Linked DNA regions of Homo sapiens: region 1 is linked to region 2. Evidence: promoter capture Hi-C in human tissues and cell types (Jung and others, 2019). All regions are on one chromosome and are shown on one strand. Each heading gives the region's core, a stretch centred on a gene start or on the middle of the fragment in contact. The rest is flanking DNA. Distances are from core to core; before and after follow the strand shown. Region 1 overlaps LINC02734 (long intergenic non-protein coding RNA 2734). Region 2 holds the start of FAM181B (family with sequence similarity 181 member B).

Region 1 (3,971 bases), core at 524-3,023, 71 kb after region 2:
TTGGCCTGCCAAATTGGGCAGGCCCACCTCTTCATCCCCCAGTGGCAGGTGTAAGCACTGGCTCCAAAGTAAAGTCCAGAAGGCAGCCACCAAGCACCTAGAGTTGTGCCTGAGTATGGAGTGGAGAAACTTCTGCTTCCCCAAGTTTTCCACCCAGGAAAGGAGGGGTGGCCTAAACACCTAAACAGTGGGTGTGCTGAATGCCTGGAGATAAATCCAGGCATGGAGTAGAGGGGGTGTCACTGCACCAAGATCTCTGTACCTGAAGGAAGAGGTAGCTCAGGTTCCTAATCCAGGTAAGTGAGTATACCAAATTATGCCCCAGTGTGGAGCAGAAAGGGCCCCACTGCACCAAGGGACCTCTGAACAGAAAGGAATATTTGACCCACTTGACCCAGGAGGCCAACAGGGGAAGAATGGAGCTACTCAGAATGAGAGGATTTCTCCCTTTGTATTCTGTAAGAAAGGAAGAAGAGAAATTGGAAACATTAATTTAGAGGAGATCAAACTTGTTGCCATTTCTCCTAGCCAGTGAATTCACAGGTCCTGAGCCATTTGGATGTGTCTTTGAGCCCCTTGGGGAGTGTTGATTTAATCATCAGTTCGCAGCAATTTCAGAAGAGAGGGAACATTTTAAATCACACCAAAGAGATTCAAACAGCAAAATGTGGAGTATGGGAAACTATAGGGGAAAAAATGTCAACATTTCTTCAACAAATAACTTGTAAAGGGTAGAAGTATATTTATTAAATTATACTTGCAAGACTTTGCAACCAAATCAATAAAAAGAAATCACTTGGATCGTAGTTTAGTTTTAAAAATAAACTAATTTTTAGCCAGGCGCGGTGGCTCATGTCTGTAATCCCAACACTTTGGGAGGCCAAGGTGGGTGGATCACCTGAGGTCAGGAGTTCGAGACCAGCCTGACCAACATAGTGAAACCCCATCTCTACTAAAAAATACAATAAAATTAGCTGGGTACGGTGGCACATGCCTGTAATCCCAGCTACTTGGGAGGCTGAGGCAGGAGAATTGCTTGAATCAGGAGGCAGAGGTTGCAGTGAGCCGAGATCACACCATTGCACTACAGCCTGGGCAACAAGAGTGAAACTCCATCTCAAAAAAATAACATAAAAAAAATAATTTTTTAAATTTATGAGACAACTGGGAAAATGTGGAAAATCATTCTATATTTGATGATATTGAGGAATTATGGTTACTTGCTTAGATATAATAGGAGTGTTGTGGTTGCATTGTTTTTTAAACACTCCTTATCTCTTAGAGATATATACTGAAATAGTAATAATGAAAAGTATGATATCAGAAATTTTCTTACTAATAATTCAGTTTGAATTAAGGAAAGTGGGTGAGGAGAATATATCTAACAATATTGGCCATGATAATTATCAAAGCAGAGTGATGGGTACTTGGGGGCTCATCATACTATTATATTTTTACATATGTTTGAAACTTATAAAAATTAACCTTAACCCCTACCTCACAGCACATAAATGAGTAATTAAATCTGTGTCACAGACCTAAATGTGAAAGCTAAAACTATAAAGATCCTAGAAGAAAACGTAGAGAGTATTTTCATGACCTTGGAGTGGGCAAAAGTGTTTTAGTTAAGACACAAAAGTCACTTTCTTTCTCACACAAAAAATAATAAATCCAACTTCATAAAAACTAAAAACACACGCTTTTCAAAAAAAAAATAAATAAAACCAAAATGAGATGCCATTACACACCCACCAGAATGGCCAAATTTTAAAAAAAGATTGGCCACAAAAAGTAATCAAGGAGATAGAGTAATTTGAACCTTCATGCATTGTGAGTGGAACTCTACAATTTTAAGCCAATTTTAGAAATTGGTCTAACAATTATCATAAACATAAACATATATCTACCAAGCAATTCCACTCTTAGGTATATGCCTAAAATAAACATGTACAAATATTCACAAAAAGTTTTGTAATGTAATACTCATAAGAGCTTTATTTATAATAGCCGAAACTTTAAATAACCCAGATGTCTAGCTACAGAAGAATAGACAAAGAAGAAATTGTTTTTGTTGTGCAGTAGTGCTAGCGACTTCAAGGTTCGGTCCTTGGACCGGGCAGCCACCACTGGTGCTGAGCTGCTAGGAAGCCCCTGTCTGCAAGCTTGTTGAAGCTCGAACCCATTGTTACTCCTCTGACTCACCGGCAAACAAAAACAAACAAACAAAAAATGGTTGAAGTAGATCGCCCAGGAAAGCTCTTCATTTGTGGGCTTAATACGGAAACAAGTGAGAAAAGTCTTGAAGTAGTATTTGGCAAATATGGACGAATAGTGGAAGTACTCTTGATGAAACGAACAGATAAAGAGGATTTGCTTTTGTCACCTTTGATAGCCCAGGAGACGATAAGGATGCAGCCAGAGACGTGTATGGAAAGTCACTAGATGGAAAAGCCATTAAGGTGGAACAAACCACCAAACCATCATTTGAAAGTAGTAGACGTGGACCCCTCCACCTCCAAGAAGTAGAGGCCCTCCAAGAGGTCTTAGAGGTGGAAGAGGAGGAAGTGGAGGAACCAGGAGACCTCCCTCACGGGGAGGACACATGTATGATGGTGGATAGTCCATGAATTTTAACATGAGTTCTTCCAGGGGATTACTCCCAGTAAAAAGAGGACCCCCATTAAGAAGTGCGGGTCCTCCTCCTAAGAGATCTGCACTTTCAGGACCAGTTTGCAGCAGCAGTGGAATGGGAGGAAGAGCTCCTGTATCACGTGGAAGAGATAGTTACGGAGGTCCACCTCGAAGGGAACCGCTGCCCTCTCACAGAGATATTTATTTGTCCCCAAGAGATGATGTGTATTCTACTAAAGACAGCTATTCCAGCAAAGATTACCCAAGTTCTCGTGATACAAGAGATTATACACCACCACCACAAGATTATACTTACCGTGACTATGGTCATTCCAGTTCACGTGATGACTATCCATCAAGAGGCTATGGCGATAGAGAGGGATATGGTCGTGATCTTGACTATTCAGATCATCCAAATGGAGGTTCCTACAGAGATTCATATGAGAGTTATGGTAACTCAAGTAGTGCTGGACATACACGAGGGCCCCTGCCAGCTTACGGCGGAAGCAGTCGCTATGATGATTACAGCAGCTCACGTGATGGATATGGTGGAAGTCAGACAGTTACTCAGCAGCTGAAGTGATCTCTACTCAAGTGGTCGTGATCGGGTTGGCAGATAAGAAAGAGGGCTTCCTCCTTCTATGGAAAGGGGGCACCCTCCTCCACGTGATTCCTACAGCAGTTCAAGCCACAGAGCACCAAGGTGGTGGCCATGGAGGAAGCCAGTCTGATAGAGGGGGAGGCAGAAGCAGATACTAGAAACAAGCAAAACTTTGGAACAAAATCCCAGTTCAAAGAAACAAACAAAAAGTGGAAACTATTCTGTCATAACTACCCAAGGACTACTAAAAGGAAAAATTGTGTTACCTTTTTTAAATTCCCTGTTAAGTTTCCTTCCATAATTTTTATGTTCTTGTGAGGAAAAAAGTAAAACATTGTTTAATTTTATTTGACTTTATGACGTTGCTTTTCAACAAGCAAATGTTAAATGTGTTAAGACTTGTTGTACTAGTGTTGTAACTTTCCAAGTAAAAGTGTCCCTAAAGGCCACTTCTTATCGGATTTTTCCCAGTAAACGAGGCAAGCAATTCTTAAGATCTCCACAAGACATCTAGCCATCTAAAATATGGAGAGATGAATCGTTCTGCCCATACAAACAAGCTAGCTATTAGAGGGTGGTTGGGGTATGCTACTTATAATATATGATATATATTTCCAACTGAAATCTCAATGTTCTCAATATAAAAAACCTGAAATCAGGTGCCTATTACGGAAAGTGCTGTTCACCCAGTAAACCCAAAAAAGCAAATGGATAATGCTGGCCGTTTTACCTTTCTGAC
Region 2 (3,999 bases), core at 7-2,506:
GGCGAAAGAGGCCAAATGGCCCCGCCCGTCCTCCCCGCCGGGAGAATCCGCAGCGGCGGGGTACAGGGGGCTCAAGGGCTCGTTCAAGGTCAAGCCGCCGCGGGGGGCAGTCAGGGGGCTCTTTTTGGTCGGGGAGCAGCCCGGGACGCTCCAGGGCTCGGGGTACAGTAGGTTTCCCACCACTGCCGGCGGCGGCTCAAAGAGGCCGGGCTCCAGCTCCGGGGGTCCCCGCAGTACGGAGGCTCCGGCGGGGAACACGTCGAGAGGCTCGGCGGCAAGCAAGACTGCCGCCTCCGTGCCGGCGCCGTAGTCGGGCCCCAGCAGCTCAAAGAACTCCACGGCCTCCGCGCCCTTCTCCAGGTCGCCCAAGCTCACGTCCGGCCCCGACGGGCCACACCCGCCGCCGCCTGCCCGGGACGGCTCCGTGAAGAAGGACGGAGGCAGATTGCGTGCCCGCAGCGGGACCTTCCTGGCCCCTGGGATCGCCGTGGCCCCCGCGGGGCCTGCCACGTCCCCTCCCGCGCCCCCAGTGCCCGCACCTCCTAGCCCGGCCGCCGGCGCAGCCACCTCACCCCCCGCCGGCTCGGCACCCCCGGGGACGTGGCGCAGCGAGTCGAAGAGCGCGGCCAGACTTCGGCTTTGCAAGCTGGCGGCCGCGGCGGCCTGCGACGCCTCCCGCCGGGGGGCAGCCTTGCCGTGGGCCGGGGCCGCGACTGTCGGGGCGCTAGGGGCGGCCAGCGGCCGTTTGGCTGGCGTGTCGGCGGCGCTCGGGGAGGGCGGGCCGGGGGGCGCGGCGCCCATGAGGCCGCTGCAGCGCTTGATCTGCTTCTGCAGGTACTTGCGGTGGTTCACCTTCCGCTTCGACTTGCCCGGCTTGTCCAGCGCCAGCTTGATGTTGCTGGACGCCGAGTCAATGAAGCTGAGTAGATCGCGGGTGGCCTCGCGCACGTCCCCTCCTTCGGCTCCCGACAGCAGCGCACCCGCCGGAGCCCCGGTCTCATCGTCCTCGAAACAGCAGCCCTTGTCCAGGGCTCCGAAGGCGCCCCCTAGCCCGTCCGGGGAGCCCCCGAAGCCGAAGGGCACGAAAGGGTGCGTGCTGAGGAGCGCCGCCTGCACCGCCATCGCCGCGGCTCCCGGGCTGTCCGCAGCGCTGCCCGTGCGCCCCCGCCAGCTCCTGCCCGCCGCCCAGACCCAGCTCCCGCCCCGGCGCGGCGCGCGCGGCGCAGCCTACTAGTTCCGGGCCTGGCTCGCTGCGCTGCCTCCCGGGGGAGCTCATTAGGTCTTGTAAGCAAGGGGCGGAGGGAGGGAGCGCGCGGCGACCGTCCCGGTGGTAGAGGGGAGGGGCTTACTTAGCCTGGCTTGGAGGAGTGGGGGGTCGCTTTAGTTTTCTGAGCTTTCTGAAGCTCAACGCCTTAACTCCTTCGTTTCCCTTTGCCCCGTGGTGTTTCTCTTGACTCCTCTAACCGCAAGGGGTGAGGAAGAGATGGCTGGTCTCAAACTCCAGTTCAGGCCCATGAGGCCGCTGCAGCGCTTGATAGGCTTCTGCAGGTACTTGCGGTGGTGCCTCTCCTGAGGCAAGAAGGCAGGAGTCTAGAGACGTGGGTTTCAGTCCAGCTGTATAACAACACCCACCAGCTTCTGGGCGCTTGCTTCTGCCAGGCGCTGTCCATCTATTATCTCATTTAATCCTTGAACAACAGCCCTGTGAATTACATGTTATCGCCATTCAACAAACGTGGACACTGCACCTCAGGGAGGTTCAGTGAGTTGGCCAAAGTCAGATCTAGCCCATTCTGACTCCAAAGCCATTCCTAAGCCCTTGACAATACTTGCGTCCTCTCTTGCCCTTGCCTTTCTCATCTATTAAGATGGGGAAGGAAAATGAGTATTTCTTAAAGCTCTAGACCTGATCCTAAGATTCTAACCTGAGTTTTCCCAGGATTCTCAAGCCCAGTGCTCTTTCTTCTTGACTGTTTGCCACTTGATTGTTACGAGTAACAATTGGCTAACAGTAAATTGAGGCCAGCAGTGGCCCATCTTTTATTAACACATAGCAGGAGGCAATGGAGAAAGGAGTCGATCTGGCTAAGCCCCCTGTTACTTGAGAACACTGTGTGTGTATAAAACTCTCAGCATGTTAGAATAAAAGATGGATTGGAACCTCTCCCCTACCTGTCATACCATTTAGGTTATCCCTGGAATTTTCATTGCATTTCAGGGATCATCATGAAGTTCACTTAAAACTAATTTCACCTGGGCAATCCTCTTTGGGATAGATAGAGAAAATGAGCAATAAGGTCATTTTCACAAGAGATTCAGAAGAGGCTTGGGTTCTGGTCTTAGCCACCACTCAATAACCTCATGACTTAGGTTGAAATCCTTGCTCTGCTGAGTGCATGGCTTTAGACAAACCAGCGTACTCTCTCTGTTTAGCTTACTCATGTTAAATGCAGGTAAAGTTGCCCTCCCCACAGGGCACTTGTGATATTTAAATGATACATTGTTCCATAGCCTGGATGAGTATTCACCCTTACTTCTCTGAAACACAAAAAGGTGACTATATCCCTTACGTGTCTTCTGGATCATAGGGTGTTCATGAGCATTAAGTGAGATCATAGATGCTTCTCAATTTGTGATAGAGCAACAACATCCTGATAAACACATTGTAAGTTGAAAATATTGTAGGTTAAAATGCATGTAATACACTGATTCAAGTTGGAAAATCATAAAGTTGAACCATCATAAGTTGGGGACTGTCTCTATATGAAAACACTGTGTGTGTGATAAAGTGTTCTCTAAATAAGTTACTCTAGTTTCGATACAGAGCTTGCATAGGAGAGACATAGACCATCTCTTTCAAAACTCTTTTTATTAAGCCTCACTTTGTAGATGTAGCGAAACCATTTTTGAACACCATGAAGGCACAGCCTTACCAAAGAAAAAAGGCCAGATGGGCCATCAGAGAAATACAAATCAAAACCGCAATGAGATACCATCTCACACCAGTTAGAATGACGATCATTAAAAAGTCAGGAAACAACAGGTGCTGGAGAGCATGTGGAGAAATAGGAACACTTTTATACTGTTGGTGGGACTGTAAACTAGTTCAACCATTGTGGAAGACAGTGTGGCGATTCCTCAAGGATCTAGAACTAGAAATACCATTTGAACCAGCCATCCCATTACTGGGTATATACCCAAAGTATTATAAATCTTGCTGCTATAAAGACACGTGCACACGTATGTTTATTGTGGCACATAGCAAAGACTATTATTCACATAGCAAAGACTTGGGACCAACCCAAATGTCTATCAGTGATACACTGGATTAAGAAAATGTGGCACATATACACCATAGAATACTATGCAGCCATAAAAAAGGATGACTTCATGTCTTTTGTAGGGACATGGATGAAGCTGGAAACCATCATTCTGAGCAAACTATCGCAAGGACAGAAAACCAAACACTGCACAGGTGGGAAATGAACAATGAGAACACTTGGACACAGGGTGGGGAACATCACACACCGGGGCCTGTCGTGGGGTGGGGGGATGGGGGAGGGATAGCGTCAGGAGATATACCTAATGTAAATGACAAGTTAATGGGTGCAGCACACCAACATGGCACATGTATACATACGTAACAAACCTGCACATTGTGCACATGTACCCTAGAACTTAAAGTATAATAAAAAAGAAAGAAAGAAAAAAGGCCAGATGAACATTTTTCATTTAGAAGATGAAGTAGCCACTTCCCAAACCCACATAGCTGAGCCAAACTTTTTATTTTAAATTCAAATTGGCTCAATTATCATGGACTTTTCATTTGAGTTACACACAGCATTTTGTCCTCCATGGCCGAACTGTCTGTTTTACTCTTGGTGGTATTCACATTCAGAAAATTGTGCAGACCTGTCACTGATTTGTGCTTCTTCCACTCCAGATGTGGATGTCAGCACTGCCCATCCCCTTTCCAACAGGGCCATTCCATAGGCTTCC

Evidence for each region. The method cuts DNA at HindIII sites, captures the fragments that hold promoters and counts their contacts. A contact is called where the count stands out against the background at its distance.
Region 1: a contact is called between a fragment that was not itself captured here and the fragment with the promoter of FAM181B in region 2, in 2 of the 25 tissues and cell types used here (aorta and pancreas).

The regions. Positions count from the first base shown.
Region 1 is chr11:82,803,125-82,807,095 of GRCh38, forward strand. The region is part of intron 2 of LINC02734 (long intergenic non-protein coding RNA 2734); the gene reads left to right. It also overlaps the pseudogene RBMXP3. Among named protein-coding and RNA genes, the nearest start is that of LINC02734, 24 kb to the left of the region's middle. The HindIII fragment of the contact is 4,934 bases long and covers 1-3,971 here.
Region 2 is chr11:82,732,608-82,736,606 of GRCh38, forward strand. FAM181B (family with sequence similarity 181 member B) reads right to left here and starts at 1,257. Exons shown (of 1, transcript NM_175885.4): 1 at 1-1,257. The coding sequence starts at 1,122. The HindIII fragment of the contact is 21,418 bases long and covers 1-3,999 here.